Linked DNA regions of Homo sapiens: regions 1, 3, 4, 5, 6 and 7 are each linked to region 2. Evidence: promoter capture Hi-C in 16 types of primary human blood cells and fetal thymus (Javierre and others, 2016). All regions are on one chromosome and are shown on one strand. The core of a region is centred on a gene start or on the middle of the fragment in contact, and the rest is flanking DNA. Distances in the headings are between cores, read along the strand shown.

Region 1 (3,455 bases), core at 459-2,958, 240 kb before region 2:
AGCTTGTAAGAAAAAGATACACCAAGGTAAGTTTGTAATTTGAAATGCAAAGTAATATTCTGAACAGTTCTCCAGAAGTCAAACCAAGAAATTTATAGTCCAAAAAGTTCTGGAGATTGGTTTTAGGGGAGGGGAAGGTGAGGAGATCAAATATGAATGAGTGCCTGCCATTGGCAATAAAAAGAAATGCCAACTCTTCATAAGAAAAAAATTTATATAACCTTCAAGGTCCAAATACGAGGAGAAAGCTCAATCACCCATTTGTTAATCTCCGCAGCTGGGATGAACATTTTCCTAAGGATGGAGAAGAGATTATACTCACTAATACACGAGTCAGTAGTTTTACTTTCAGGTGGCTTTTTATCTGATGTTTATCTTATATGATGACAGCTGGGGGACAGAGAAATGTTCCACTTCTACCTATGTATCAAACTAGATACCTAAGCCCTTCCCTTCCAACAGAACACAGAGAAATGCTGGATAAAATGTAGAAAACATTCTTTTAAATACATAGCAGAACTTACAAGAAAGGGGAAATCCTTACGGTCAAAAATGAGGGGAATGAGGCCGGGCGCGGTGGCTCACACCTGTAATCCCAGCACTTTGGGAGGCCGAGGAGGGTGGATCACGAGGTCAAGCGATCGAGACCATCCTGGCTAACACGGTGAAACTCCGTCTCTAATAAAAATACAAAAAATTAGCCGGGCGTGTTGGCACACGCCTGTAGTCCCAGCTACTCGGGAGGCTGAGGCAGGAGAATTGCTTGAACCCAGGAGGCAGAGGTTTCAGTGAGCTGAGATCATGCCACTGCACTCCAGCCTGGGTGACAGAGCAAGACTCTGTCTCAGAAAAAAATGAGGGGAATGAAAAACCAGAGAGGTGAATATGTGAGCTGATGCTGTAGCTGTCCTGGAACAATTTGCCAGTCTCATTAACCCACGGCTTTTAGCTTAGACATCTATATGGGGAGCAAAGAACCCAGGGCTTGCCAAAGGCAGGCAGTGGGAATTAAATGTACCTCCTTCCACCCCTGCCATAAAGGTGGGACACATGGAAGCTTATACTCTCAGTGAAAAAGGCATCAATCAAATATTCTGCCCACTAGCACAAGGAGATGAGGAGGAAGTGTGTTTGCCTTGGCCTGGGAAATCTCCTATCAGTATTTATGCTACACTTCAGGTATGGAAACCCTAAAGCCAAGAAATTAAAATAAGAATGGGCTTGTGTGCAGCAACAGCCCTGGGAATATGACATAAACAGACACTCAAGATTCCCATAGATAAAGCCTTGCTGAAAATAAACTCACTTTTCAAAAAGACAAAACTGGATGAACAGCCTATCAAATACAAAAATCAACAGATATAAACAGCAGGAACTAAATTTAATAGAACTATTACAGTGTCTATCAAGTACAGACATTTAAAATAATTAGTGACATAAAAAACATTAAAAAAACATTAAAAATGACATCAAGAAACAGAGATCTGAAAAATGATGCATAATTAGAAATGAAAAACAATTTCTGAAAGAAGAAGCCCAATGGATAGGGTAAAAGAGATTATATACATCTGACAAGAGAATTCATGAACTAGAAGGCAATCTATGAAGTTATCACAGAAAGATAACATACATGGACAGTACAGAAGGGCTTAAAAGATAAAGAGAATAGAATGAGAAGTTTTAATACACACTTAAAAAAATAGTAACTACACTAACTGTGTCTTTGAAATTTGTTCTCCATAACAACTTCATTATTTAGTAACACTGAGTGATCTTACTAGGAAAAATCCAAATACGTTTCTGTTTTTTTTTTTTTTTTTTTGAGATGGAGTTTCGCTCTTGTCACCCAGGCTGGAGTGCAATGGCATGATTTTGGCCCACAGCAACCTTCACCTCCCAGGTTCAAGAGATTCTCCTGCCTCAGCCTCTCGAGTAGCTGGGATTACAGGTGCCCGCCACCATGCTCGGCTAATTTTTGTATTTTTAGTAGAGACAGGGTTTCACCATACTGGCCAGGCTGGTCTCTTGGCCAGGCTGGTCTCGAACTCCTGACCTTGTGATCCGCTCACCTCGGCCTCCCAAAGTGCTGGGATTACAGGCGTGAGCCGCTGCGCCCAGCCCGAATGACCATTATTTCTAAAGAGTGAAAGCAGAGATGTTCCTTAAGACCATCAAAACATTTTTGAGTGGTGATTAAATCAAGTATTAAAACCAACATTCAAAAAAACCCACAATAGTTCACTTAAATATTAATCCCTACTTAAAGTATGTTGGCAGGTTAAAAATAAAGGCTAAAATATAATTTCTAAAGGCTGAATGAAAGGGTAATTCATATACTGAAGATCACACCCAAGCTTTCCATCCTGGGAAAAGTCGGCTGAGATTTTTGGGGTCTATGGCCTGCTGTATGAGCAAATTCACTTGTCCACCAACACTGAGCACAGTGCCTTCTTCCACTCCTTTCAGTTTCTCTTGTAGTCTCATTAAGACACGTTCAGCTACTTTGTTGAAACTCTGGTCAATATCACTAAGGACAAAAACACAAAGGTTTCAGTGAGGTGAACAGTTTAAAGGCCTTGGGAATAAGAAAATCTGAAAAACTGACAACAGGACCTTCTTAAAATACTGCTCACCTGAGATTTCGTTTGCATTCTTGGTCATCTGCATTCAGAGTAGGGTGAAGCTCAGTTTCATCTTCCGGCCTCTGCTGTAAATACAAAGCTTTCAAAGGATTCATGGTCCAGTCAAAGAGTGGATCATATAGAAGGACCTAAACAGAGAGAACATATGTATTAAAAGAACAATGTACATTTTAATCACATACTTAGAAACAGTAGAACCAGTATCATACAAATAAGCCAGTCACATGGTAGTTGATGGGGGAGGGGAACAAACATCATGCACACTTCATGTTTCCTTGAGGAAACTATCCTAGCATAATGCTCCAAGCTTCTCATTTCATTCTGAATTCATTCTTCCTCCATGGTTAGGGGTGACATCCCTTGACCCATGTTTCCTGACTGGATGAAACTAATCTATTAAAAGGTTAGTCACTTTCTTTCCTTCTCTCTCTACTCTTAACCCTGGGTTAGTGTATTTGCTTTGTAGGGCCCAATTCTTCCTCAGCCCAGGCTGTCTCAAGGTATAGATTGGGATGTGGGAACTGGAGAGCACCAGCAAGCCTATTTGGACCTCACTCCTAAGCCGTCTTCTCCAATAGTTTTATCAGTAACAAATCTGAAATTCTGATCTCCACCCTATTCCTATGGCTCTTTTTCTCTCAGTTCTAAATCTGGGTGGATCCAGAAAGGTATAATTTGTTGAAACCTCCTCAAAACCCAAGGTTTGGTGCTGCGTTTGGAATCTTGAGATATATATTAGGTGTAGAATTAGGATACCAAAACAACTGACATGGCTAGAGCAAGTAGCTTTAGGTCGTAAATTTTAGAAAGTGA
Region 2 (3,174 bases), core at 675-3,174:
GACCATAAAAGAGACCTGGTAAGCAAAGGGAAAAGAGCCAATGTAATGAGAGGTCAAATTCCATTCTACAAAATAGCACAGAAAACTGGAAATCCTGTTTATAGTTCAGTAAATGACCATTTAATTCAAGTGTCCAATACAACTGCTTCCTAGAGTTCAGTAATATGAATGTCACATATCATACATTACAGCATGTACAGGCTTATTTTTTTCATGAGGAGTATTTGTGTTTCATTTTAAGATCTTTTTTTTTAAGACGGAGTCTCACTCTGTTGCCCAGGCTGGAGTGCAGTGGCATGATCTCAGCTCACTGCAACCTTCCCCTCCTCCCGGGTTCAAGCGATTCTCCTGCCTCAGCCTCCCAAGTAGCTGGGATTACAGGCGCCTGCCACCACACCCAGCTAATTTTTGTGTGTGTGTGTATTTTTAATAGAGGTGGGGCTTCACCACGTTGGCCAGGCTGGTCTTGAACTCTTGACCTCAAATGATCTACCCACCCCGGCCTCCCAAAGTGCTGGGATTACTGGCATAAGCCACCTCAACCAACCTGATTGTAAGATCTTAATTAAACCATAAATTAAGAAGGTTCTGAACTTTTTTTTTTTACATCTCTAGAGTACCTAGTTCACCTATGTCACCTAGTCAATACTGACTGAAACCCAAGATAACCTAATTACTTTCTTGTGATTTCTTCACTCATCCCATGAGACTAACAAATAGGCTAAAAACTCATCTTCCCTGGAAACCTACGCCTTGTGACTTTTCTATTATCTCAGTCACCCAGGATCAATTTTAGACTCTTTCTTTTCCCTTGGCTTCGCACCCTCACTCCCTAATTGTCAAGTCCTAGACTGGTTCTTTTACAATCTCTTGCAAAGCTCCTACCGCCAGCACCCTTGTGCAAGTAATGTTATTCTACGCCCAGACGTAAGAACTAGAGTGACCTACCATTGCAACAAAAACAAACATATCAACAATCCCTACTTAACTAGGGTCAAGTCCATACTCACAACATAACTGGATCTCCAAGCTTATTGCCCCCATCGACCTAGAAAACTCAAGCTTCACCAACCACACCCTGAAGGTCTCTACCTATTCCTGAGGCTTTGCCTGACAATCTGTGGTGCGTACTCCCTTGCTTACGCATGTGGAGAATAAATTCTTTGAGACTCTGCCCCTGCTGTGTTCCCTAAACACAACGGTCAGAAGAGCGACAGCCCTTGGAACGCCCTCAGTATGTGAGCTTTGCTCATATGTCAAGTATAATTTATTGTATTATCTGAGTAGTCATTTGTTTTCCCTGATAAATTTCAGGCTGCTCCAAAAAACATCTGTTATGATCACATGGTGCCCTCTCCCCTTGTATGCCCAATGATTATCTATTGTATTAAAAAAGAAAAGGAACCTCTCCTGACAATAACGCACACAAATATGTTTTAAAGAAAATCTCGGGAGCAGCTGCACAGGCCTGCAAAGAGACTCTCCCCGATCCCACCGCTCAGGCCGGGCCAGCGCCAATCCTGGCGGTCCTGCCCGCCCAGACACGTGCCCTTGTTTGACACACCAGTAACGCTCATTAAGATGATTACGCCGAGACCTTGGAAGTAGAAACGCGCTGTAAAAATAGGCGAGTCCCTGGGTGTTATCGGAGCACTTAGGCGGTTTTTGGACCAGAACCCGTCGCGTGACTGTCCTGGGGCCTAAGCCGCGCGCCCGGGCCGCGGGAGCCGCAACGGCCGCGGGCTGGAAGCTTCCGAGGCGGGGACTCCTCGCATCCCGGGTCTGAGTGCTGTGGGGACGAACCCCGCTCACCTGCACCAGCCTCCGGAGCAGGGGGCTGCGGCTGCGGGCGCCGCTGCGCAGAAGTGCCGCCAGCACAGCCATGGTCGCAGAGGGCTGAGTATCGGCTCCACAGGCGTAGACTAGCGGCCTCCTCCCCAACCCCGCACCCCTAGCGGCCCGGCGCGGGCACCGCCCATCCCGCTTCCTCCAATAGTCGCCTCTCAGTCGGCGGCGATTGGCCGGCAGCCAAGGGCGGGGCGGAGCCTGGCGCTGGGACACCGCAGCCTGGGCCAGGAAAGGTTGACGAGTGAAGGACGTGGATGGAGACACTGGCGCTGGGGTCAACGAGCACCTGACACGCTGCTGGCTCCCGTGTCCACCAAGTCTAACCTGCCGGGGCCGGTGGTTTATGTGTAATCCGAGATTTTTCGATTTACTGAGCATGTTTCCCTTAGGCCTACCCAGCACAAACTCATGAAAATATTTTAGGATTTTTTTTTTTTTTTTTGAGACAAGGTCTCACTCTGTCACCCAAGCTGGAGTGCAGTGACGTGACCACAGCTCACTGTAATCTCGACCATCAGGGCTCAAGCGATCCTCCCTCCCCAGCCATCCCAGTAGCTGAGACTACAGGCGAAAGCCTCCACAACCAGATAATTTTTGTATTTTTTGTGGAGACGGGGTTTCACCATGTTGGCCAGACTGGTCTTGAACTCCTGGACTCAAGTGAGCCTCCCTCCTCGGCCTCCCAAAGTGCTGGGATTACAGGCGCAGGCGACCACGCCCAGCAAATTGTTGTATTTTTTTTTTTTTGTAGAGACTAGGTCTCCCTATGTTGCCTAGGCTGGTTGCTGACTCCTGGGCTCAAGCAGACGGCCAGACTCAGCCTCTCAAAGTGCTGGGATTACAGGCGTGAGCCATCACACCCAGCCGTGAAAATATTTTGAAGCAATCAAATTCCAGGCTCAGTCCAGATACAAATATGGGTAAAAAGGCCTCAGGTGATTCCAGTCCCCAACCTTCAACCACTCCAGCTGAGACCCCAGACATCATGGAGCAGAGACAAGCCATACCCACCATGCTGTCTGAATTCATGGTCCACAGAAACGAGAGAAAACAAATGGTTGTTATTTTAGGCCATTATGTTTTGGAGTATTTTTTTTTTTTAAGATAGGGTCTCGCTCTTGTCACCCAGTCTGGAGTACAGTGGTGCAATCATATCTCACTGCAGCCTCAAACTCCTGGTCTCAGGGGATCCTCCTGTCTCTGCCTCCCAAGTAGCTAGGGGATCCTCCTGTCTCTGCTTCCCAAGTAGCTACGTAGCTAGGACTACAGGCATGCTCCACCATGCTAATTTTTTTAATTTTTATTTTATATAGAGAAGGGGTCTTG
Region 3 (3,307 bases), core at 629-3,128, 180 kb before region 2:
CTGTTGTAAATCAGGTCTGTCCATAAAAGCAGTGCCACTATGGACAAGGAGGTAAGTATGTTGGTTAAAGAAAACTTCTACAGTTCTGGTAAGATTCTGTTTTTTAGTCTGGGTGCTACATGTACAAGCGTACTCTGCAAACATTCTTCAAGCTAGATATTTTTGATCTGTATACTTTTCTATATTAGGATATATCTCAATTTTTTAAAATCTACAAAAAAGGAAGTACTGTAGATATTAGGCTCCTAATGAGAAGTTAAGGCTGTTGAAGAAAGATAGTAGAATCTGTGAAACACTACTTATTCCTATTTTTCTAATTAGAAACAAAAACCATCACGAGAGCTTCAAGCTGACTTTAACCAGGTGATTTCTCCATCCCGTGGTCACTAAATCTAAACACCTAAACTAGAGATGATGTTGGCTTCTTATTTTACATTAGGTTTCCCCTCAAATGGCTGTAGGAAAGGACTTGAATGGTTTTTAATTATTTAAGTTTAATCTAGCCCTCCAAGTCTTCATTCTTATGTCTGCTACATAACAAAAGACACTGAGTACCTGTCAGTTATAATGTATTTATAAAATATATCGGCAGTCAATTTATTTGCAACTTAACTCTAAAAACAAGTATTTCTGACTTTCCTAAATATTTACAAGGCATTTTCAAATTAAGTTATACACATATGTAAATCTCTAACTTTTCATTTTATATGAATATTTAAGGAAGAAAAGTACAAAAGGGGCCTTTTTAGGGACATTTTAATTAAATAGGCATGTAACTTAGCTAGCATCTCATATTTCCCCAATATCCCAAATGACAAACCCTCACTTATTTTGAAGATATAATAAAGATAACCACTCATATAATAAAGATGACCACCGCATAACTCACATTCATTCCGCCAATACAATCATGCTTTGCTTAATGACACAGATATGTTCTGAGAAATGTGTCATTGGGCAATTCTGTCATTGCGTGAACATCACAGAATATACTTACACAAACCTAGATGGTATAGCCTACTACACACCTAGGCTACAAACCTGTATAGCATGTTACTATACTGAATACTACAGGCAACAGAAAACATACAGTAAAAATACAGTATTATAATCTGTCCTATATGTGATCCGCAGTTGACTGAAATGTCACGCAGCGCATGACTGTAGTTTACCTAGAACTTCTTTTTCACCAGTGTGGTTTATTGCCATCTTGGATAACTGCAACAAATTGACAACTAGTTTCACCATAATCCCATCTTGCGGATTATCTAGAAATAATTTTTTAAAAATTAGTTTAAACTAGCATGAAGACAACACTTTTGTTTATAATTGCATATATATTAAATTATCTGACTAGAAAACTTCTATAAAGTTTAAAAAAGGTTTTAAGTCATGAGTAGCTCAAAAAATATGTAGGGAATGAATCTGAACTTCCTTAATACAACAGATTCTTTTGAAAGTGATTAGCAATATGTGACAACAGAGAAAATAAAATGTCTTAAACAAATTGTGCAGATAAGTCAACACCTTAGCAAAATCACAAACAGAAGCACAAGAATCATTCAACACTAAAGCTAGAAGGGACTTTGGGAGCCTGCTTGGCTTTTTAACATCTAACATTTAGAGTTTAGACCAGCACTGTCCCACAGAACTTTCTGCAATGATGGAAATGTCTATAATCTACACTGTCCAATGATCACTACTGACCAAATGTACTACTGAGAACTTGATATGTGTTCAGTACCAATGAAAAAACTGAACTTCAAATTTCATTTAATTTTACTTCATTTAAATAGCCAAATGGCTAGTGGCTGTAATGCACAAGGCAGATCTCTAGCCCATAAAATACTCAAGAACACAAGTACAAGAAATAATGGTGTTTCTATTTACATACATTTTATATATCTCAAATGTATTAGAAACTCTATGCTCAGATAGTCAAAACTAAAATTCATTTTAAAAAGTACTGAGAGTAAAAACAACACAAGAGAAATATGAAATTAGGCCAGGCGTGGTGGCTCACGCCTGTAATCCCAGCACTTTGGGAGGCCGAGGCAGATGGATCACTTGAGGTCAGGAGTTCAAGACCAGCCTGGACAACATGGTGAAACCCCGTCTCTACTAAAGATACAAAAAATTAGCTGGGCATGGTGGCACACACCTGTAATCCCTGCTCCTTGGGAGGCTGGGGCAGGAGAATCACTTGAACCCAGGAGGTGGAGGTTGCAGTGAGCTGAGACTGTGCCACTGCACTCCAACCTGGGCGACAGAGTGAGACTTCGTTTCAAAAAAAAAAAAGAAATATGAAATTAATTGGTATAGGAAGATGAAAATCAAAACACAAAGTAGAAAGTTTCCCAAATACTGTAATAATGTACATTTCAAATCAAATTAACAAGCAAGCTAGAAAAACTTACAAATACATACTTACATATATATAGACACACATAACACATATGACTAAAGTATTAAAATGAGACATATTTCTTTCATTCAGGTAAACTGGACTAGAAGACAAGACTAACTTGTATGTCTGGCTCTAAGGAATTAAAATTTTCTTTTACATGGTTGGAAGGTGTTAAAAATGTTTAAGCATGGGCCAGCCGCGGTGGCTCATGCCTGTAATCCCAGCACTTTGGGAGGCTGAGGTGGGCGGATTGCCTGAGCTCAGGAGTTTGAGACCACCCTGGCCAACATGGTGAAACCCCGTCTCTACTAAAAAAAATACAAAAAATTAGCCAGGCATGGTGGCAGGTGCCTGTAATCCTAGCTACTAGGAAGGCTGAGGCACGAGAATCTGAGCTCAGGAGGTGGAGGTTGCAGTGAGCTAAGATAGTGCCACTGCATTCCAGCCTGGGCAACAAGAGCGAAACTCCGTCTTAAAAAAAAAGAAAAAGAAATGAAAAATGTTTAAGCATGGCTAGATGCCGTGGCTCACACCTCTAATCCCAATGCTTTGTGAGGCTAAGGCAGGAGGATCACTTGAGGCCAAGAATTCGAGACCAACCTAGGCAACATAGTGGGACCCCTGTCCCTACAAAAAATAAAAAAAATAAATAAAGTAGCTAGGTGTAGTGGTGTGTGCCTGTTGTTCCAGCTATTCAGAAGGCTGAGACAGGAGAATTCCTTGTACCCAGGAATTCAAGGTCATAGTAAGTTATGATGGTGCCACTACACTCCAGCCTAGGTGACAGAGTGAGACTCTTAAAAAAAAAAAAAAACTCTGTCTCTTAAAAAAAAAATTTAGGCAGTAGAAAAACATGATCATATTTGGGTTTAGAGAAATCATCTGGCAGAGGATGAATAA
Region 4 (2,669 bases), core at 170-2,669, 130 kb before region 2:
CCAAGTACCTAATGCTTTGCCTTATATGTATTAGCAATATATTACAAAGGAAAACATTAACCTAGTATCTACATCATTCAAAGACTACTTATATAATTAATAGATTATTCTTTTAAATGCTTCTCTTCTTCGGACTTTGAGACCTACTTATATCAAATGTCATTATTCAGTAGCAAATTTTACTAATAGATAGAGAAAAAATACAAGTTACAATCTCAAAGGCAAATTCAGAAAGTATTTTTAAAAACACCAGATATAAATGTTAAGCATAACATTGTCTGCAAACATATCCCTTTTTTCACCAAGCAGAGGAAGTAAAGAGCATAGGTTTAAAAACCTTTAACATCTGGTATAGGTAAGCAGTTACGCATCCTTTTGCCCTCTTGAGGGAGATAAGGAATGTTTGTGCCAGTGAGTCATTTTCAGTCACAGCAATACAATCTAAGTCTCTTGAGTCAATCAACTAAACTCAGGTTTAGATTTATTTTTGTTTTCAATTATCATTAGTTTTTAAAGCTAACAAATAGTCAAATCATAGTTGATGTACAGAAATGGGTAACATCTTTAAGAACTTATTTCATATAAATTTTATATTCTTAATTTCCCAGCATAACCATTCAGTTTTTCTCATTGGCACTTGTCACATATTATACTATACAGCATTAAAAAATAGTAAGCTTGGTCTAATGTTATATAACATAGATTACAATCACTGAATTAAAACAACCTCTTCCCTGGCTAACAGTTGCAATTTTTTTGGACCAATTTAGTTTACAATTATTAAGATGCAGCTACTACCCAGCTAAAATTATCATCTTTGTAATTAAAGCTATAGCTTAAAATGATAAAGAGCATTATTAGATAACATACCATTCTGGCACGCTTTGGAAAAAATTCATTGCAGCTTTACAGTTTTTCATAGTGAGACTCACAAGAATTTTCTCCAGTACAAGATGAGGAAAATTACTACAAAGAAAAACAAAAAGCTTCACTTAGAAGACCAAAAGCCATGTAAAGAATACTTTAAACTTTAACATCCATGTTTAGCTATAAATCTTGACTTCTAAAATTTGGATCCTAGATTAAAATTGCTTTCATCTATACTAAATTTCTTAATATCTAAAAGGACAATTTAAGGAGGACAACCATTGTTATTATCATTTCCAATACTGTTTAGAAACAGCATGTTTAACATTATTTCTGAAATAAATAAAAGGTTGTAAAATTAAAGCAAAAGTACTTTAATTGGATCCATTCGGAGGTCTGCTCTCCAATCATTTGGTTCCAATTACCAATCTGTGGAAAGGTTAAGTGGACGAGGGACTCCATTCCTTTATCCTAGTGCTTACATCCTGTTTTGTCTTCCTCGTTTCCTCACCTCATTCATAAAACATCTTTTACCCAAAAGACACTCCCATTATGAGAAAGGATCCAGGATCTACATGACTCAAATATATGGACTTACTTATTTAAAAAATCAGAAAGGAACACATAAATGCTCAAAGAATTATATGTGCATTTTTCATGCACATCCCCCATATTCTCACAGTGAGACAACCCTTTATTTCAGAAGCAATCAGGCATAAAGACACAGATAACTGTAAAAACAAACATAATATTTAATAATTAAGGTTAGATCTGGGAAATTCTGCATTATTATTATAAAATAAAGCCATCTGGCATCAAATAAGTGGAGAGAGCCTGATAAAACAAACAAAAAAAACAGCAGCATGCTAATGAACTTAAATTACCTGTGAAGAATTGGAGGCACTTCTGTGCTATTTTCTAAGTCACCCTCTAACTGATAGAATAAGAGCCATTTCATTATTGATTCCTTTAAAGAAAAGCTTCTATTTACTTCACACATATTTTGCTCTATTCCCATTTTTACCGTTCCTGGAACTATACTGGTGGTCAGTGCCAAAGTCAAACAGCATACTGCAGGACTATAACAAAACAAAGGACAATTGTGAAAAGCAAGCTATTGGAGGGGCAAAGACTTTATCTATCAGGACAGTGCCTGGCACATACATTTAGTTAAGGTGACTAAATGAACATAAAAACTGTTAAAAGTCTGATTACATTTGGGAAGATTCTTGATTAAAAAATAGCTCGTTTATTAACAGTGCATAGTACTACAATTTAAACATGGCTATTTAATAAATAATGATAAATTGCACATAAAAGAAATTTAAACTCTTCATAATTCTTTAAAGAAAGTCTTTTGGATACACGTATACAATTAGAAGGAATAAGACCTGGTGTCCGATACATCAGTAGGGTGACTACGGTTAACATTAATCTATTGTACATTTCCAAACAGCAAGAAGAGAATAATTCAAACGTTCCTAGCATGAAGAAAAGATACGTAGGGTGCTGATATCCCATCACCCTACATGAGTGTGTCATATGAGTGTGTCAAATTATCACATGTACCTTGATAATATATAACTCTATTATAGATCAATTAAAAATTTTTTAACTAAAAAAGAAATTCCTTAACATTAGTCTTTAATAATTTGTCAACATTTGAAACTAAATTCACTTATGCATTTATTAAGTCTTCTCGGCCAAACAAGAAAAGCATCTGAAATAGAATTTGACATCTTTAACTGAAGTAACAAACTATGAAAATGATCAGGGATATGTGAGTGTGTGTGTGTCTGTGT
Region 5 (3,541 bases), core at 197-2,696, 160 kb before region 2:
CTCAGAACCAAACCAAACATTATAGTTATCCTCTAAAAAATACAGAAACATTTAATAACTAAAACAGTGTAATTGGATTGCTTGTAACACAAAGGATATTTGTTTGGGGGATGGATACCCCATTCTCCATGATGTGATTATTTCACATTGTATACCCGTATCACACACACACACACACCCCTACTATGTACCCATAAAAATTAAAAGATCTAAAAATAAAGCAAAAAGTATAAAAGATCCAAGTTCTTGTATTAACTTTGTTCATGACAATATGCTTCTATTAATGCAGTGTAAGACAGAGTTAGCCTTTTTGGTAACTGTAATACAATGTTGATTCATACTATAATCACAAGATACAAAACTTCCTAGGTCTTTTTCTAAATGAATTGCTGTCAGATCAGTATTTTCCCTTTTTGCAGATGACAGGCTGATTTAAAATGTATAATATACATTATCTCATTAGATTTTATGTTATTTACACTTATCTTTCTAATCTATTGAAATTCTTTTCTAAACTCACATTCTTTCAATTGTTCCTTTCAATTTCCTGCTATCACAGACTTGACAGTTATTTAACTACCTTAAATACTTGTAAGAAACAAACCAGGGCATAAATAAATGAAAAAATTTGAACTCTAAGATAATCATTACCATAAAAAATATATTATTCTACAGAAACGTGAAATATCACAAGTTTCACTGTAAACACCACAATGATTTGATTTTGTGTGAGATTCTTCTCCTCAATCCATTTCTTCCCATTGTCACCTGTTCCCTTAATTAGCTTTTAATCAGATCACATATAAAAGGATTTTTAAAATAAAAAAGGGAGCCATTTATACTCCCATAAAAACTCAGTTAAATTTTGGGTTTCTCCATAAAAATGCTAAACCAAAAGAAATTGCTATGATTTGACCCATTGTGACCCAGAAAGAATGCAGTTTCAATCAATTCATACAGTTGTTTTAGAGCAGCTTTATACTGTAAACTACTGGATTATAAACTCTCTTATACCAAACTTGGTGAAGTAATTTATGGGATATTCATAGCAAGCATATGATAACAGCAAATACATGTTACTTAAAATTACCATTTCTCTCATTCCTTCCTGAGCTTTCAAGTATGCATTTTCAAAAGCTGTTTGCTGAAGCTTCAAAGGAAGTGCTTTCAGTAACCTGGAAGAATCTCCCTTCGTGTCCTGGAACAATCTTAAAACAAGCAAGCAAACAAACAAACAAAAAGTGAAATAATTTTCTAATTTCAAACCCTACTTTCCAAAGCATATTCCAGAACAAAAATAAATCACTCTGTGAGACATAATAACATACTAGCTCTTTCTTAAAGACTAACAAAACCTGAGTTTATTTAAAGAGGTTCAGACCAGCAGCTTAGTATTAAGGTCTTGAATACAAAATCTATTTTCTCCTAGAACTGAAGAGGGTCTCAAAATATATTTTAACTATTGCTCAAATTTGAACAGCACTGAACTCAAACTAGCCAGAAAAGATAAACTGTTCTCTGGCCGAACACCAATTAGTTGAGTCCACAGATTCCAATGTCAACCTGCTCTAACATTTAATCACTCTGAAAGCGGGTAAGTTAATGTTTTTATGTACCATTTAAATTTTGTTTTATGTGATGGAAAAAAGTTGATCAGTACACCTTTTGCGTAACACCCACATATTTAAGGATAACTCTTTAATCAACTTTGTCTTTTATCCTTTTTTAGTAATCGAAGCTTTTATAATTGTTTATGTTCCTCTGATTCTTCTAGTTTCACTCACTGCTCTTAAAATAGCTGAACATTAGATATCTGCTATTGTCTGAATGTTTAACCCCTCCAAATGTCATGTTGAAATCTGATCCCCATTAGGTTATGCCTAATGGGAGGTGTCGGAGTCATGGGGGCAGATCCCTCACGAATAGATTAAGGCCTGAGGGTAAGGAATGAGTGAGTTCTCACTATTCAGTTCCCACAAGGGCTGGTTATTAAAAAAAAGAGCCTGGCATGGCCTTCCCCGCCTCCACCCTTGCTTCCTCTCTCACCATGTGATCTCTGCACACACTGATTCCTCTTTGCCTTCTGCCATGAGTCTGAGGCCCTTACCAGATGTAGACGCCATATGCCAAATAAACCTCTTTTCTTTGTAAATATCCAGCCTCAGGTATTCCTTTATAGCAACACAAAGGGACTAAGACAAAATCTAACAAGTGTAAAATTAAAAAAAAGAATGCTACTTGCATGTTATTCTTGAATTTATACTTTTTGAATCTTCAGTTTTTTTAATGCCACCACTACACTGCCGCCTTATTACATTCAATTCAGTCTTATATTACCTCAGTCCTTAAAGTTCAGCATACATTTGCTTTTATCTGTGAAATTTAATAAGGGCTTGAACTACTAAACATATTCATTAGAAATCCTTGCAATGCATTATGGTCTTACTAAAAACAGTTCCAAACCTGAGGAGTTAGACACAAAATCTAGTTTATGAAAACATTACTGTCGGCATATTCAAATACTGAAATATTAGTTTTAATACTTTATGTGACTGCTGAACAATATAGTAATCTTTTATTATTGATTGCTTACATTTTAAAGTTACTCAAATGATTTTCAGCTTTGATGTTTTTGAAGCATCATGTAATTTTTTTTCAAGTACATTCATTTATTTTAAAACAGTTATTGGATACCTATCACATGCCAAGTATTGTTTTAGGTGCTAAAAATACAACAATGAACAGAACAGACAAAAACCAGTGCCTTTAGGAACATATATACTAGTGGAATACGGAGAAGTAAATATATTAAAATATGTTTCACGTTATCATAAATACTAGAGAAAAATAAAACAAGGGAACAGCAAGATGGCAACATAGGAACAGTTCTGGTCTGCAGCTCCCAGTGAGATCAACGCAGAAGGTGGTGATTTCTGCATTTCCAACTGAGGTAGATGGCTCATCTCATTGGGACTGGTTAGACAGTGGGTGCAGCCCACGGAGGGAGAGTCAAAGCAGGGTGGGGTGTAGCCTCACCCGGGAAGCACAAGGGGTCGGGGAACTCCCTCCCCTAGCCAAGGGAAGCCGTGAGGGACTATGCTGTGAGGGGCTATGCTGTGAGGAATGGTGGATTCCTGCCCAGATACTACGCTTTTCCCGCAGTCTTTGCAACCCGCAGACCAAGAGATTCCCTTGGGTGCCTACACCACCAGGGCCCTGGGTTTAAAGCACAAAGCTGGGCGGCCATTTGGGCAGACACTGAGCTAGCTGCAAGAGTGTTTTTTCATACCCCAGTGGCACCTGGAACGCCAGCGAGACGGACCCATTCACTCCCCTAGAAAGGGGGCTGAAGCCAGGGAGCCAAGTGGTCTAGCTCAGCGGATCCCACCCCCATGGAGACCAGCAAGTTAAGATCCACTGGCTTGAAATTCTCGCTGCCAGCAGAACAGTCTGAAGTCGACCTGGGACACTGAAGCTTGGTGGGGGGAGGGGCGTCTGCAATTACTGAGGCTTCAGTAGGATGTTTTCCCCTCACAGTATA
Region 6 (3,559 bases), core at 1,047-3,546, 230 kb before region 2:
ATTCACACTTCTTTTTCTACATTCTGAGTTGCAGGGGGATAATAGTGATGATGTGGTTAGTAACCAAACCAGCTTCATTATTAAATCATATGTTTCATATTCATCCTGATTCTTAGCATCTACCTTTTTATAACTTATGCAGAAGAGAATTCTCCTACTTCAATAAATAATAAAAAGACAGGGTTTTCTTCTTTGTTTTATAGTGAATATGGCATATTTTCTCTCCTCTCAATATATTATTTTCTGAGAATTTCTTTGGAAAATAATGAAACCTGTGATAACTTATTTCCTTTAATTATTTTTGTTCTTTTGCATATAACCTCTAAAAATTATCACCTAGTGATTAATACTGTTTAATAGAAGTTTGTCATTACATTCACACTTCTTTACATTACATTCACACTTCTTTCTTATATATTAAACTGTCTATTCCACCTAGAAATCCCATTAATACTTCAAAATAATGAGCAAAACTAAATTCATCACTTTCTTATTATTTACAAAACTTGATATATTTCTTAGCTATATATATTCTTTCTTTCTTATATATTAAACTGTCTATATATATACATAGAAGCTACATATTCTTTCTTTCTTATATATTAAACTGTCTATTCCACCTAGAAATCCCATTAATACTTCAAAATAATGAGCAAAACTAAATTCATCACTTTCTTATTATTTACAAAACTTGATATATTCCTTAGCTATATATATTCTCTTTCTTTTATATTAAACTGTCTATATATATACATAGAAGCTATATATTCTTTCTTTCTTATATATTAAACTGTCTATTCCACCTAGAAATTCCATTAATACTTCAAAATAATGAGCAAAACTAAATTCATCACTTTCTTACTATTTACAAAACTTGATATATTCCTTAGTTAGAAGCTTCAGTTATCTGGGGGCCCCACTCCCCCACTATTTCCTCATCTAATATCACTGGTACAGTTTACTACAAAAATGTCCCTCAAATCCAATATTCTGGTTTCTACAACTTTAGTATAAATCTTCATCATTTCTCATCTAAACTATTACAATATCCCTTAATTTTTCTTCCTGCTGCCAATACCACTCCCCAAAGTGCTCCTGAAATTATATTTCTGAAAATAAAATATTATCATGTCCTTCATTTATTTCCTATAGTTTAATGCAATGAAGTTGAAACTCCTTAGCCTGGCTTTTTACAGTCTAGTACCAATCTCTCTCTCAAGCGACTCAACTACAGGCTTACTTCACTCCAGACACATTTAATGTCTCACCACTCCCACAACATGCTACATCTTAAAATTACTCCTTGTTTTGGTGGAATAGCCCTGATTCCTTCTTTTGAATCTGCTCTATCTTCTGTCTGAATTATGCTTTCTTTCTTTCTTGAAGACCAGGCTCAAAAGACACCTCATCTATTAAGTTTCACTCAGTACCCCAGGCAGAGTTAACTGTTTCTTCTAGGACAACTGTTTATGCTGAAAACAAAAAAACCCAATATTTACTGCTTCAATTTATCTGTCTCTTATATTTGTAATATCTTGGTAGGCAAACAACATTCCATGATGACCAAATATTTACTAAAAAGAATAGATACATAGATTTTATTACTTACCTAGATCTATATGTACAAGTTCTGCTGACTGCTCATTTATCAAGATATTCTGTACATGTCTATCACCAAGTCCAAGTATGTAACCAACTGGAGAAAAAAGAAACAAACAATCTGAAATCACTGATTCCATCTCTTTCTAATATATAGCCATAATTTCAATTAAGACCACTGACTTGGTATAATCTTTAAGTAGTTTAGGATTTTTAGCCTACTTAAATGATGTGCATAACCGGCCATGTTGAGTTTAACTCAAATCTTGCCAGCTATTTTAATGCATATTGCATTTTACAAATCCTAGATGATTTGCTAAAAAAATTTTCTCTTTACTAATAGGCACACATTTTAAAATATTAGTACTTAAAAAATTATTGTGGCTAAAGTTGAGACCCATTATTTACCTGGGTCAAAGCTGTGCATTATATGTACTCAAATTTTTATTGAACATACTTATAAAATGAGAAGTCTATGGATAAACTCTTCACTCTTCAGTGAAACTTTCTTCTCCTTGATGAATTATATTTAACACAAATTAATCATTAATTCATTTCACCAGGTGTGTATCCCCCCAAAAAACTGCATTTCTGTATTTAAGACAGATGATGACATGCACTAATGGGAGAAATCACATGGCATTACAAAAAAACACACTGGGTAGGGAATCAGAATGACTGGGTGTCTGGCTTGCTCTGTCATTAACTAGGCCTACTTTCTTGTTTATAAACTAGTTGTATCAGATTAGTGATTCTCTATGTAGAAGAGAGTTTCACAATTACCTGGGAACTCTTTCAAAACATACATGCCCTGCCTTCCTGGGGTATAGTATGTAAGTGATGGAGGGAGTTGTCTTTAGTTAAAAAAAAAAAAAACAACAAATAGATTAGATGATCTCTAATGTTTACATTAGTTCTCATACTCTAGGATTTTGTTAACCATACTATCTACCTATTCTAATTTCTTAGGGAAAAAAAGTCAAAATATATATTGTACACAAAATATTTAAATATATCTCATGGTTTCTATTCTGAAAACAAAATTCTATTAAAAAGTATTAATCACTAGGTGATGATATTTAGAGGTTATATGCAAAAGAACAAAAATAATTAAAGGAAATAAGTTATCACAGGTTTCATTATTTTCCAAAGAAAGTCTCAGAAAATAATATATTGAGAGGAGAGAAAATATGCCATATTCACTATAAAACAAAGAAGAAAACCCTGTCTTTTTATTATTTATTGAAGTAGGAGAATTCTCTTCTGCATAAGTTATAAAAAGGTAGACACTAAGAATCAGGATGAACAAGAAACATATGATTTAATAATGAAGATGGGTTGGTTACTAACCACATCATCACTATCATCCCCCTGCAACTCAGAATGTAGAAAAAGTGCTGAATCAAACAAAAATAAAACCTGCCAAACAACAAAGTGCTCAATCTACTATATGTACAAGAAGATTACCAATAGAAGAAGTAGCTACACTGCGCGTATAAGCCAATCGCTTCTCAAACCAAATAGCTGGATCCAAGAATTTTTCCATGCAGAAGTAACGGAAAACTGGTTGAAAATTTTGGCAAACATCCATGAAGACTTCATATTTCTCTTCAAAAGACTTTTTTTGCACCTCCTTTAAATAGAGAATATATATAATTATTTTTCAATATTGTGTTCAATTAAACTAATATACACATTTTTATATAAAAATATGACAGATATAGGGGCAATAAAGATGAACAGGATACATTACCTACAAGAAGCTAACAGTCTGGACAGGGAAGCAATTAATTACAAGTGATAATCCCTTTAGGATTTCCATATTAATTGTTGGGGGAGGAAGCACACCTACAGTGACTGTTACTTGTTTTGATTAAATTCTAATTTGAATAATCCTGTACTCTTAAGCAGAAATAAACACAGAAATGCCTAAGTAGTTCCAGATAACCTCAGGTGGCAT
Region 7 (3,501 bases), core at 62-2,561, 190 kb before region 2:
ACAATTTTTTTTTTTTTTTAAAATAGCTGGGTATGGTAGTGTGTACCTGTAGCCCCAGCTACTTGGGTGGCTGAAGCGAGAGGTGCCCTTGAGCCAGGGAGGTCAAGGCTGCAGTGAACTATGATCACGCTAATGCACTCCAGCATCAGTAACAGGGTGACACCTTATCTCTAAAATTTATTTATTTATTTATTTTTGAGATGGAGTCTCGCTCTATTGCCCAGGCTGGAGTGCAGTGGCGCGATCTCGGCTCACTGCAACCTCTGCCTCCCAGGTTCACGCCATTCTCCTGCCTCAGCCTCCCAAGTAGCTGGGCCTACAGGCACCCGCCACCACACCCGGCTAATTTTTTTTTTTTTTTTTTTTTTTGTATTTTTAGTAGAGACGGGGTTTCACCGTGTTAGCCAGGATGGTCTGGACCTCCTGACCTCGTGATCTGCTCGCCTCGGCCTCCCAAAGTGCTGGGATTACAGGCGCAAGCCACCACGCCTGGCCAAAAACATTTTTTTAATCCCAAAATATCGTTTAATGTTTCCCAAAAAACACAAAAATAGAGCTCAAAGGGCTCTAATATTTCATGGAAGAATGGCTAAGGAGTATTAGCCAGTAATAGAAACAACAGGTTCTGGGACCAACTCTGTTGCAAACTATGAGAAATAGTTTACATAAGATTTTCCATGTGAAGCAGTAAGTACACTACCTGGCACATTGTATATGCTCGAGCAATGTCTTCTGTTGTTATCCAACAACACTATGATCAAGAAATCTACACTATCTTTTAGGTCAATGACCTGTCTGACTTTCCTGTGTCTCCCTGAATTTTTTCTCTTTTTTTTGCATCCCTCTGCTTCAGGAGTATCCCTGAATGTTTAGCCTAATCCTCTGAAAAACAGATAAGTTCTAGTCTTATCTCTAGAGTTTATCTGGCTGTGTAAATATCCACCAACATACTGAAATAACCTCAGCACTACACTAGTGATGGCTTTACCAAATCTGGGAAAAAATGTACCTGAATGATTCCTGCCTGGCGTGTTGATGAGGGGATTGCTGTTTCGAGGTCATATGTTACTAGGGCTTTGCCCCACATTGCTTCGTGTTCATATGTTCGTAGTCTATAAGAAAAGATTGTGAAAATAGCTTTGGGTTTTACACACACATAACTCCTTCATAAACAGAATTACTATACCGTTGTTTAGAAAAATGCAATTTACCTAGTAATGGGTTGTAACATCTTCCCTCCACCACAGCCATACAAACTATCTGGCTCCCCTATACTTCTGTAGATTTCTAAGAGAAGATCCTGAAAACATGGAAACAACAAAAATTGAAGAAGGAAAAAAAATCGGTCTATAAATTTAGCAAATTTTAAATTGTATCATTACCAATATGTAACTCCCAACTCTAAATGTTATGTTATAGAAATAAAATGTAATGATTCTGAAATACAGTTCTGAAATACAGTTCAAACAACACGAGTTTGAACTGTGCAGGACAACTTATATGTGGATTTTTTTTTCAATAAATATATTGAAAACTTTTTGGAGGTTTGCCACAATTTGAAAAAATTCACAAACCACACAGTTTAGAACTACTGAAAAATTTTTTAAAAGTTATGTCATGAATGCATAAAATAAATGTACAACTAGTCTACACATTCCATCATTTGTATACATTTGATATGATACATTTCATCATTTACTACCATAAAATATACACAAATCTATTACAAAGAGTTAAAATTTATCAAAACTTACACACACACACTGTACACAGCATTATTTGTGGTTAAGACAAATATAAACAAATGTAAAGATGCAGTATTAAATCATAATTGCATAAGATTAACTATCGTACATATTGTACTATTGTAATAATTTTGCAGCTACCTCAGTTGCTACTGTGGTAAGCATTATTGTGTTGTGAGTATCTGCTTAAAATGCCATGTGACACTAATAATTTCCACATGAGCAGTTCATTTCTCTAGTAAATTGTATCCAGAAATGAAAAGTAATCTCTCCAGGTTCTCATGTATTTTTTCACTGTGTTTACTGCAATACTATAAGCCTTGATTAACACCACAGTGGCTGGAGGTGCTTCCAAGATGCAGAGAAAAGTCATGCCATTACAAGAAAAAGGTGAATTGTTTGATACATTCTGTAGATTGAGGCCTAAAGTACATATCAACCAGCAGTGGTTGCCTACAATTTCAGACAGATGATTCTTTGTAAACAGATGATATAAACTTACGGTATTGATAAACACAGTACAGTTCTGTAAATGCATTTTCTCTTCCTTATCATTTTCTCAATAACATTTTCTTTTCTCAAGCTACTTTATTTAAGAATACAGTATATAATACATATACAAAATTGTGTTGTTTATATCATCGGTAGGGCTTCTGGTCAACAGTAGACTATTAGTAGTTAACTTTTGACTACTAATTTAGTTTTACCCTGATTTTTAATAGCACAGGGGGTTAGCACCTCTAACCCTTACACTGTTCAAGGGTCAACTGTATATACTAATGATTTGGATCAGCAACACAGTAGACTGGTCCTAGACAACAGGAGGACTGTAGTCTACCCGAGAAGAATTGCCTACAATTTCATGAATTAGATAAGAAATAAGTACCGACCTACCAGGCTTATATCACATAAAAAAAAAAAAATCACACAAACAAAACCAAACAATCTTGTCAACACCTAAAACTGTACATGGGCTGGGTGCAGTGGCTCACATCTTTAATCCCAGTACTTTGGGTAGCCAAGGCAGGCAGACTGCTTGAGCTCAGGAATTCAAGATCGGCCTGGGCAACATGGCTAAACCCATCTCTACAAAAATTAGCTGGAGATGGTGGGGCATGCCTGTAGTCCCAGCTACTTGTGAGGCTGAGGTTGGAGGATGGCTTGAGCCTGGGAGGCAGAGCTTGCAGTGTGTTATGACTGCACCACTGCACTCCAGCCTGGGCAACAGAGCCAGATCCTGTCTGGAAAAAAAAACAAAAAAACTGTACATTAGAAAATACAGTCCTACAAAGTCTGACTCTTGAAAACTCAATTTGGTAAGAATAAAGGTCGTGGATTTTTCTTTGAAAAATAGCACAAAACTGTATTGGAATTGGTAAAATTTGATATGGATAAAGTAGTTTGGTTACTGAAATCTTTGTTGTAAAATTTACACAGAAAAGATATATTCTGTTTAAAACAATCTCAGTTAAATAAAAATGAAAACATAAAAAAAATAAAATAGAAAAAACTAGGAACTATACTGCATAGAAAATTGATCAAGCAATTGAACTGCCTATATGGTGCTTGCTCTGTGAAATATTTTCTACACACAAATTCATTTATATTGGCATAATTCTATAGTTCCAACTCAAATGTTTCTATTCATAACGTGAAATCAAGTCCTCAGAGTAGAAAAGTTCAGTACCCATGCTTAGCACAGTGCTTAGTACACACACGATATTCCAAAAACTCAGTAGAGAGGAGGAGCCTATGA

The links. Contacts are between HindIII fragments. The CHiCAGO score rates a contact against its expected background, and 5 or more counts as called.
Region 1: a fragment that was not itself captured here is called in contact with the fragment with the promoter of ACAT1 in region 2 in 2 of 17 cell types (neutrophils and non-activated CD4 T cells); the score reaches 5.6 in neutrophils.
Region 3: a fragment that was not itself captured here is called in contact with the fragment with the promoter of ACAT1 in region 2 in 1 of 17 cell types (neutrophils); the score reaches 7.6 in neutrophils.
Region 4: a contact is called between a fragment that was not itself captured here and the fragment with the promoter of ACAT1 in region 2, in 2 of 17 cell types (M2 macrophages and M1 macrophages). The highest score is 6.5, in M2 macrophages.
Region 5: a contact is called between a fragment that was not itself captured here and the fragment with the promoter of ACAT1 in region 2, in 1 of 17 cell types (M2 macrophages). The highest score is 5.8, in M2 macrophages.
Region 6: a contact is called between a fragment that was not itself captured here and the fragment with the promoter of ACAT1 in region 2, in 7 of 17 cell types (naive CD4 T cells, naive B cells, neutrophils and 4 more). The highest score is 8.2, in naive CD4 T cells.
Region 7: a contact is called between a fragment that was not itself captured here and the fragment with the promoter of ACAT1 in region 2, in 2 of 17 cell types (neutrophils and M2 macrophages). The highest score is 5.4, in neutrophils.

Annotation. Positions count from the first base shown.
Region 1 is chr11:108,364,397-108,367,851 of GRCh38, reverse strand. ATM (ATM serine/threonine kinase) reads right to left here. Exons shown (of 63, transcript NM_000051.4): 62 at 2,634-2,770; 63 at 1-2,527. The coding sequence ends at 2,344. It also overlaps a transcript of C11orf65 not described here. Among named protein-coding and RNA genes, the nearest start is that of C11orf65, 100 kb to the left of the region's middle. The HindIII fragment of the contact is 1,297 bases long and covers 1,060-2,356 here.
Region 2 is chr11:108,120,317-108,123,490 of GRCh38, reverse strand. It overlaps ACAT1 (acetyl-CoA acetyltransferase 1), which reads right to left and starts at 1,924. Exons shown (of 12, transcript NM_000019.4): 1 at 1,813-1,924. The coding sequence starts at 1,884. RefSeq lists silencers at 1,713-2,122, 1,724-2,262. The HindIII fragment of the contact is 9,706 bases long and covers 1,753-3,174 here.
Region 3 is chr11:108,295,248-108,298,554 of GRCh38, reverse strand. ATM (ATM serine/threonine kinase) reads right to left here. Exons shown (of 63, transcript NM_000051.4): 33 at 1,173-1,268. Among named protein-coding and RNA genes, the nearest start is that of ATM, 74 kb to the right of the region's middle. The HindIII fragment of the contact is 6,595 bases long and covers 1-3,307 here.
Region 4 is chr11:108,251,114-108,253,782 of GRCh38, reverse strand. ATM (ATM serine/threonine kinase) reads right to left here. Exons shown (of 63, transcript NM_000051.4): 11 at 1,752-1,946; 12 at 871-966. Among named protein-coding and RNA genes, the nearest start is that of ATM, 29 kb to the right of the region's middle. The HindIII fragment of the contact is 861 bases long and covers 989-1,849 here.
Region 5 is chr11:108,277,158-108,280,698 of GRCh38, reverse strand. ATM (ATM serine/threonine kinase) reads right to left here. Exons shown (of 63, transcript NM_000051.4): 23 at 1,091-1,208. Among named protein-coding and RNA genes, the nearest start is that of ATM, 56 kb to the right of the region's middle. RefSeq lists an enhancer at 2,764-3,541. The HindIII fragment of the contact is 588 bases long and covers 1,153-1,740 here.
Region 6 is chr11:108,345,416-108,348,974 of GRCh38, reverse strand. It overlaps ATM (ATM serine/threonine kinase), which reads right to left. Exons shown (of 63, transcript NM_000051.4): 58 at 3,067-3,232; 59 at 1,610-1,696. It also overlaps a transcript of C11orf65 not described here. Among named protein-coding and RNA genes, the nearest start is that of C11orf65, 120 kb to the left of the region's middle. The HindIII fragment of the contact is 2,793 bases long and covers 900-3,559 here.
Region 7 is chr11:108,313,622-108,317,122 of GRCh38, reverse strand. ATM (ATM serine/threonine kinase) reads right to left here. Exons shown (of 63, transcript NM_000051.4): 41 at 1,212-1,300; 42 at 1,010-1,112. It also overlaps a transcript of C11orf65 not described here. Among named protein-coding and RNA genes, the nearest start is that of ATM, 92 kb to the right of the region's middle. The HindIII fragment of the contact is 6,335 bases long and covers 1-3,501 here.